2 separate regions of the Homo sapiens genome follow, and region 1 is linked to region 2. The links are contacts of gene promoters, found by promoter capture Hi-C in blood cells and fetal thymus (Javierre and others, 2016). All regions are on one chromosome and are shown on one strand. Each heading gives the region's core, a stretch centred on a gene start or on the middle of the fragment in contact. The rest is flanking DNA. Distances are from core to core; before and after follow the strand shown. Region 1 overlaps HSF5 (heat shock transcription factor 5). Region 2 holds the start of OR4D2 (olfactory receptor family 4 subfamily D member 2).

The links. The method cuts DNA at HindIII sites, captures the fragments that hold promoters and counts their contacts. A CHiCAGO score of 5 or more calls a contact.
Region 1: a contact is called between a fragment that was not itself captured here and the fragment with the promoter of OR4D2 in region 2, in 1 of 17 cell types (M1 macrophages). The highest score is 5.2, in M1 macrophages.

Annotation. Positions count from the first base shown.
Region 1 is chr17:58,430,929-58,435,457 of GRCh38, forward strand. All of the region lies in intron 5 of HSF5 (heat shock transcription factor 5), which reads right to left. Among named protein-coding and RNA genes, the nearest start is that of RNF43, 16 kb to the left of the region's middle. The HindIII fragment of the contact is 1,708 bases long and covers 2,425-4,132 here.
Region 2 is chr17:58,164,472-58,169,081 of GRCh38, forward strand. OR4D2 (olfactory receptor family 4 subfamily D member 2) reads left to right here and starts at 2,511. Exons shown (of 2, transcript NM_001004707.4): 1 at 2,511-2,582. The HindIII fragment of the contact is 4,615 bases long and covers 1,375-4,610 here.

The DNA.
Region 1 (4,529 bases), core at 2,029-4,528, 270 kb after region 2:
TACATACTGATATAGTTTGGCTGTCCCCAACCCAAATCCCACCTTGAATTCCCACATGTTGTGGGAGAGACCTGGTAGGAGGTAACTGAATCATGGGGGCAGGTTTTCCCGTGCTGTTCTGATGATAGTGAATAGTCTCATGAGACCTGATGGATTTATAAGGGGGAGTTTCCCTTCAGAAGCTCTCTTCTCTTGTCTGTTGCCATGTGAAACATGCCTTTCACCTTCCACCATGATTGTGAGGCCTCCCAGACACGTGGAACTGTAAGTCTATTAAACCTCTTTCTTTTGTAAATTGCCCAGTCTCGGGTATGTCTTTATCAGCAGTGTGAAATCGGACTAACACACATACCAAGGCTATATGGTATAGCCTATTTCTCTTAGGATACAAACCAGTACAGCAAGTTACTATGCTGAACACTGTAGGCAATTATAACACAATAGTAAGTATTTATGTATCTAAACATAGAAAAGGTACCATAAAACTACAGTGTTACAATCTTACGGGACCACTGTTCCATATACATGGTCTGTCATTGACTGAATGTCATTATTTACAATCTTACGGGACCACTGTTCCATATATATGGTCTGTCATTGACTGAATGTCATTATGCCGTGCATGACCATATATATCCTATTGGTTCTATCACTCTGTAAGACCCTGACTAATACACATACCAAAACATATCTTAGTTTTCAGTATCAGAGCATGGTAATGAGATATGGAATGGTGTCTTTTGTAAAACATACACAATTCTTGTTTCCAGCAGAAGAGAACTGTAGAAGACACCACTTGTGTAACCCTATTGGACCTAGCACAGTACCAAGCCCAAGGCAGGCATTCAGTAAGTACTTGCTAAAAGAAACCTGAGGGTGGTTTGACTTCCCAAATATTCAAACCTTACCTCTTAGTGGTTAACTAAAAGACTGCTCATAGAGACAAAATGTAGACATAGACACAGACACAGAAAGTAGAATGGTGGCTACCAGCATTCAGGGGACAGTGGAAATGGAGACTTACTGTTTAATGGGTATAGAGTTTCAGTTTTGCAAGATGAAAAGAGTTCTGGAGAGAAATGGTGGTGATGGTAGCAGTGGCATTAACTGAACTGTACATTTTCAAATGGTTAAGATGGTAAATTTTATGAGCATTTATCACAATTTTTTAAAAGACTGCATTTTTCCATAAATTTTTAAAAAGTACATTAGTAAGATAAGAATGTATATGGAGAAAAAAAGCAACTCATTCATTTATTTATCCAACAAGGAGTGCCACAGGTAATATTCTAGGTCCTGGGGATACAACAATGGGTAAAACAACCACAGAGAACCAACCTTCTAGAAAGAGTGGGGGTGGGAATTATAGAAAAATAGCAAGTAGTAATAGGCACTGCAGAAGAAAAACAAAGAAGAATAAAGACTGAAGGAGGGCAGGACATGGGGAACAGGGTGCCATTTCAGATGGCATGGTCAGGAAGATTTCTGTGATGATCTGGCATCTGAGCAGAGGACTGAATGAAATGAAGGAACACACCATGTGAAAATCTGGGTGAAAAACATTTCAGGCAGAGACAATAGCAAGTGTAAAGGCTGGAGCATTCTTGGTATGCTTAAACAATAGTGAAGAAACTGCTGGGGCTGGACTAGATGAGGGAGATAGAAGGTGGTAGGGGATGAAGCCAGAACAGTTGCCAGGAGCCAAATCATTCAGCATCTTGAAGACCACAGTAAGGATTCTCAGATTTTCTTCTACATATATATATATAGAAAACTATTAAATAAATTTAGATGGGAAAATAATTACTGATTTAAGAGATCACTCTGGCAGAAAGACTGTAGGGGCCAAGAGCAGAAGCAGAAAAACCTTAAGAAGCTACTGCAGTCATCTAGGCAAGAGAAAGTAGTAGCTTGGACCATGGCGACACCAAATAAAGGAGGTGAGAAATGGTCAGATTCTGGATCTGCATCTACAGTGAGCTGATAAGATTTGCTGATGGACTGGACATGTGAGAGAAGGGAGTCAAGGGAGACTCCAAGAGTTGTGGCTGACCAGATGACTAGAAGTACCATTCATTCATTCATTCATTCATTCATTCATCTGAGACAAGGTCTTGCTCTGTTGCCCAGGCTGGAGTGCAGTGGCACAATCACAGCTCACTACAACCTCTGCCTCCCAGGCTCAAGCAATTATCCCACCTCAGCCTTCCGAGTAGCTGGGACCACAAGCACCTGCCACCAAGCATGTTTTTTGTAGAGACATGGTTTCACCATGTTGGCCAAGCTAGTCTCGCTTAAGCCCAAGTGACCTGCCCACCTTGGCCTCCTAAAGTGCTGGGATTACAGGTATGAGCCACCACGCCTGGCCAATACTATTTATTTATAAGTAAATAAGTAAAATTGGGGAAAAGGTAGAATATATTAAGCTTGGGACACCTACTGGACATCCAAAGACGTAGCGTAGGCAGTAGTGTATACAAGTGAGGTTCAGAGAAGATTGAGACTTAAGATACAGATTTCGGAGACACCACTACAAAGGTGATAATAAAAGCATGAGACTGGTTAAGATTACCTAGGAATTGAATAGAGAGAGAGAAAGAATTGAGCTCTGGGGTTCATCAATATTTAGAAATTAGGAAAGTTGAAGAGTATTCAGTAAAAGAAACTACAGAGTTGGCCAGTGAAAACTAGGAAAGGGAGATGTTCCACAAGCCAGAAGAAAGCATTTCAGGAAGGTTGAAATAATCTGTTCAAATGCTGCTGAGGTGAATTAAGTAAAATACGGACTGATAATTGGCTACTGGATTTGGCAACATGGCAGTCATTGGAAACCTTGACAAATGAAGTTTCAGTTGAGCAGAAGAAAGAAAAATCTGCTTGGAGTAGTTGAAGTAAGGATATGCTTCCAAGGAGCTTTGCTCTAAGGAAAGCAGAAAAAGTAGAGGAATAGCTACATGGAGGTATGAAGGAAAGGTCAAAGGGATTTTTTTTTTTTTTTTTTTTAGATGGAGCTTCACTCTTGTCGCCCAGGCTGAAGTGCAGTGGCGTGTTCTTGGCTCAGTGCAACCTCCGCCTCCCGGATTCAATTGATTCTCCTGCCTCAGCCTCCCGAGTAGCTGGGATTACAGGCGCATGCCACCCCGCCTGGTTAATTTTGTATTTTTAGTAGAGACGGGGTTTCACCATATTGGCCAGGTTGGTCAAGAACTCCTGACCTCAGGTGATCCACCCGCCTCAACCTCCCAAAGTGCTGGGATTACAGGCGTGAGCCACTGTGCCTGGCCCAAAGGGATTTTTAAAACATAGAACCTATGACGACATGTTTGCATGCTGATGGGAATTATCTAACATAAAAGATAAAATGTTAGGCCGGGCGTAGTGGCTCATGCCTATAATCCCAGCACTTTGGGAGGAAATCGAGACCATCCCGGCCAACAAGGTAAAACTCCATCTCTACTAAAAATACAAAAATTAGCTGGATGTGGCAGCGCGTGCCTGTAATTCCAGCTACTTGGGAAGAGGCTGAGGCAGGAGAATCGCTTGACCTGGGAGGCGGAGGTTGCAGTGAGCCGAGATCTTGCCACTGAACTCCAGCCTGGCAACAGAGCTAGACTCCATCTCAAAAAAAAAAAAAAGATAAAATGTGGCCAGGCACTGTGGCTCACTCTTATAATCCCAGCACTTTGGAGGCCAAGGCAGGAGGATCACTTGAGACCAGGAAATCAAGACAACCTGGGCAACATGGCAAGACCCTGTCTCTATAAAAATTAAAAAAATTAGCTGGGCATGGTGGCATGAGCCTGTGGTCCCAGTTACTCAGGAGGCTGAGATGGGAGGATTGCTTGAGCCGGGAAGTCGAGGTTGCAGTGAGCTGTATTCACACCACTACACTCCAGCGTGGATGACAGAGGAAGACTCTGCCTTAGGGGGAAAGCAAAAATAAAGATACAATGTGATTATTGAAGAGTAAGGGGGATAGCAGTAGGTCCTAAGTCTGTGAGTACACCAAAGGGGACAGGATTCTGTATACAAATGAAAGGACTGGCCCTTTTCCATTATAACAGAAGGAAAGGCAGCGTGTAGGGTTACAATTGGAAGTAGACTGATAAATATGTTGGTGGGAAGATATGAAAGCTTCATTCTAGCTGCTTCTATTTTCTCAGTAAGATATAAAACAGGGTCACAGCCACGAATGAAGAGAGAGGAGGAGTGTTGGAAACGGAGCAGAGAGGACAGGATATAATAGAGTGGCTTTGGAGAATGGGGAATATATTGACTAGAAAATATTATAGGACTGCTGCAACACTGACAGCCTACGTGAATTTAAAGTGAGACTAAGGCGGGGTGCAGTAGCTCATGCCTGTAATCCCAGCACTTTGGGAGGCCAAGGTGGGTAGATCACCTGAGGTCAGGAGTTCAAGACCAACCTGGCCAACATGGCAAGACCCCATCTCTACTAAAAATACAAAAATCAGTTGTGTGGTGGCTCATGCCTGTAGTCTCAGCTATTTGGGAGGCTGAAGCACGAG
Region 2 (4,610 bases), core at 1,261-3,760:
TTTTAAAAGTTGTCTTGGGCCACTTTTTAGTTTATAAAAATCTTACTTTTATATGATTCAGAATATCAGTTCTAAAGGTAATATACAGCACAGAAAAGCTGCTTATAATCTACAACACTGACACAAAGGGAAGGAATATAAGTAAAATTTCTTCCAGATTTATCTTACACATGGTTAATCCACAACACCAGGTGCTTAATTGAATTTGTTGAATATGCCCCCATTAAAATGAATATGGCTATATTTATGAGAATTTATGCCTTTAAGACATCTCTTACTGAGGCTATGTTCTCTGAGAGAGAGAGAGAGGAGAGAGAGAGAGAGAGAGAGAGAGAGAGATAAAGGTATTTATTGCAAGGACTTGGCTTACATGATTGTGAAGCTGGCTAGGCAAGTACGTAATCTGCAGGGCAGGCCATCAGCTGAAGTTGCTGTCTACATGCAGAATTTTCCTCCTTCAGGGAAACCTCAGTTCTTCTCTTTAGTTCTTTCAACTGATTGAATCAGGCACACCCAGATGATCTAGGATAACCTCCTTTACTTAAAGTCAACTGATTATAGACATCAATTTTATCTACAAAATACCTTCACAGCAACACCTAGATTAGAGTTTGATTGAATAACTGGAAACTATAGCCTAGTCAAGTTGACACATAACACAGACCATCACAAAGGGAGAATGATTAATTATCAATGATGCTGGGCTTCCTGCATGAGAATTTACATGATATTTCCTCTACACGTGTCCTGTATCCGTTTAGTGGCTTGACATTATAATAGTAGCTAAGTCTGACAAACATTTATTTTCTTAGAAATGTGATACATATAGAAATAATTTTCTCAGCTCAATTTTCCATGACTGAGTCTTTAGCATAATTACTCCATCCAGGCCATTCATACACTGGCAACCATTATACTGGCTAGTGGTTGCAGTAAAGATGAGCTTTGATGGACATTTTACGACCTACCTGTACTTTTGACAGGGGAAATATATAAACTGGAACCTACCAGGTCTCTATTACTGAAAGCTAAATCGGAATCATAAAGAATTAATCCAGGTAATTCAAAATCACCCATCTGAGAGTCAATAACATTAACAAGGCCTGTGCCCATCCCCACCATCAATCTAGACTACTTTCCTGAGTGGCTCAATTTTAAAGTAGACTAAAGCTCCAAATAATGGGAAGAATTTGTGTTTTTTTTAAATTGACATCTCTTGTATGTGAAAGAACGTCACTTCGTGTTCTTATCCCCAGAGGCAGAGTCTTTATTTTGCCAAGTATAAACATTCGCAATGAAAGAACTCAGACCAACCTGAGAACCTCACGTGGATCAGAGAGCTGTGAGAAATCACACAGATTTTACAGCACATCAAGCTTACAGTGTTGGTTAATTCCAATTTTTAATCAGTTCCTCATAATTAGAAAATATATGGGCTTCTTGTGCCAATCCTTGTATTAAAGGGAGTAATAATTGACATGTAAATAATGCTAGCACTTTGTAGATGGTGTGAGTATAATTGATATGGGTAGTGAATCAACTGTGGGGGTATTGGTTGACAAGATGAAGAACAAGATTTATGGGGTAATTAAGTTTTCATTTTAGTATGCAGACATTTTCCCATCCATGACGTTGCCTATGTAAAGATCAATTCAGTTTAAAAGGAGAAGAAATCAAACCAGTTACCTTGACAACACCATGAAAGAGAACTATCCATTGTGCTGAAGAGCAAGTCGTTGGTTCTCAATGTCTGGTCCCTGGAACAGGTGCATCAGCATTATCTGAGAACTTGCTACAAATGCAAATTCTTGGTCTTACCATTGATGTACTGAATGAGAAATTCTGGGCTGGGAACAGAAGTCTGCCTTTTAACAAGGCCTTCAGGTAATTCTCTCAAGGGTAGGTGTCACTGGTCTAAGAAAGAAATTCTCCTAAAACTCTCAGAGTCTCCTTTTTTTTGAAGACCCTCTTGTCCTTTTGGATCTTGGCCTGAATATTACCCATTCCTCAAATCTCTAAAATTTTCAATGTGCTTGGTACTTTGGGCCCCCCAAGGAAGACCTCTCAAAGAGTGTGTGCTTTTGAGACATTTAGAAACTTTTTAACAACTCCCATTGCTCCCTTGGCCCCAGTGATAATCAGCCCAGCTCAGCTTCCTGAGCCCTGTCCAATAGTTTCTCCCAAAGGATATTCCCCCTTCCCCTGGGGTCTCACCCATGGTATTATTCATGAAGTAAGGGCAGGAGCTAAGAAACTGTGAGGCTGAAGCAAAGGATCTCCAAGAAGATGTACACTGAAGCCCCATTCTGGGCTAAAGGGAGGTGAGAGACCAGTGTTTCCTCAGCTGCACAGAGATCAGCTGTAAGAAAGATCTTGCAACACCTGCTAGAGGGTGGGAGTAATAAGCAAGTGACATAGACCTGACGATAGTAAGTCTAAAGGATGAGCAGAGACTCAAGAAAAACTGCAAGGGGAATGTGATGTTGAAAACGGATGCCTCCGATTACATAGGAAAACAACAAAGCACAGAATTCGCCCTATGAGACTTAGAGGGAGGATGCTCACAGCAAAGGACATCAACGGTGAGGAAAATCACAAGATTCTCGACATTGTCACATAAAACAAAGTCACATTTACCTGCTAATATATTAAGTTGGCAAACATTTCTGAGCAAGTGCTAAATCAGAGATGCTGTCATAGACTCTGGGCTTACTAAGTTATTGAATTTACAATCTAGTTAAGAGAAGCAATAGAAAAAATGATAAATGCTATAATGGAGGTATTTATCAAATGCTATTGGAACACAGAGAAATAAGGAATTAATTCTGCATGAGAGAAATGGGGGGAGGAGTCAAAGGGAAAGTGATATTTCTCTTATCGCCTCTAGGTTGAGAAGGTAGCAAAAGGCATTTCAGGAAACAGGATTTATTACCAAAGATATGAAAATAATGAAATATACTGCCTACATGGAAGCTATGAGTTCTTTGAACAGCAATCAGTTCCCAGGTGACAGTGATACTGATTAGAAAGGTATAGGGAGGCTATTTTTTATAGTCTTGTATGAAATGCTGAGAGAGAGTTGCATGCACGTATGTAGGTATGTTTTTCCACCCTCAGTTTATCCACAGAGCATTTTAGGTGGCTTCTGAGAGTTTGAGTTTTAAGCTGTGAGCAAATCAAATATTATAACAATGAGGAATATGATCACATCTGAGTCAGAGGGGTCTCATGGACAGCTGTGTAGAAGGTGTCCTGGAGTGAGGCCAGGCGCGGTGGCTCATGCCTGTAATCCCAGCACTTTGGGAGGCGGAAGCGGGCGGATCACGAGGTCAGGAGATCGAGACCATCCTGCTAACACAGTGAAACCGTGTTACAAAAAAAATTAGCCGGGCGAGGTGGTGGGCGCCTGTAGTTCCAGCTACGCGGGAGGCTGAGGTAAAAGAATGGCGTGAACCCGGGAGGCGGAGCTTGCAGTGAGTGAGCCGAGATCGCGCCACTCCAGCCTGGGCGACAGCGAGACTCCGTCACAAAAAAAAAAAAAAAAAAAAAAAGAAGGTGTCCTGGAGTGGAAGTAAACTGAAGGAGCAGAATAAGATTAGAATGACCTATAATATTGTAGATAATAGATTGCAATAGGCCAGGTAAGAGAGGGTAAGAGAGATTGAGACAGGGCAGGGGGAGGGGGGAGACCACTGACCCCCTCCCCTGTCACCCTCCATCTTCTTCTTCTTTTTTTTTTGTTTTTGATTTTTTGAGACAGAGTCTCGCTCTGTCACCCAGGCTGGAGTGCAGTGGCATGACCTCCACTCACTGCAGCCTCCAACCAGCTTCAAGCGATTCTCCTGCCTCAGCCTCCCAAGTAGCTGAGATTACAGGTGTGTGCCACCACGCCCGGCTAATTTTTTTGTATTTTTAGTACAGATCCGGAGTTTCACCATGTTGGCCAGGCTGGTCTCAAACTTCTGACTTCAAGTGATCCATCCGCCTCCGCCTCCCAAATTTCTGGGACTACAGGCGTGAGCCACCTCTCCCGGCTCCTCCATCTTCTTCTGTCCCTTTAGTCCCGTTTTCTCCACCTCCCCAGCACTTTTCCACTTCCTTTACCTTCACTTGCTCTATTCCTTCATCTCCCTTTATTCCTTTGTCTATTTCTATTTGTTTTCTTTCAACAACTTCCTTTGTCTCCCACCCTTGGATTCAGTAACATCTTGTAAAATTCCTGTTTCATTCAGAAGCTCTCTGAGTCCCCTTCATACAATATTCATCATCTATTTCTCAATCCAATGACTCTCCCTCCCTTTTCTCCCTCTTGTCTCAGCACCACCACATATGCCTCACTCATAAGGGGCCGCCCACAGTGGAGGGCAGGGGAACTACTGGATGTCTCAGGCATCCAGCTGCATCCAGTGTCTTCCTTGTGCTGAACTTGTGCACCTGATAGCTATTCACCCATGCAGCAGTCAACACCAAGAGCTTTTTAAGTTAACTGTCATTAAGAATGGGTACTGCAGGGCACAAATAAATTGTGAGATCCAGATATAGGCTTTGGACTTAATAGTTGAATTGTGGAGGGAAAATATAGACAAGGAAAATCCATTAACACGATGATG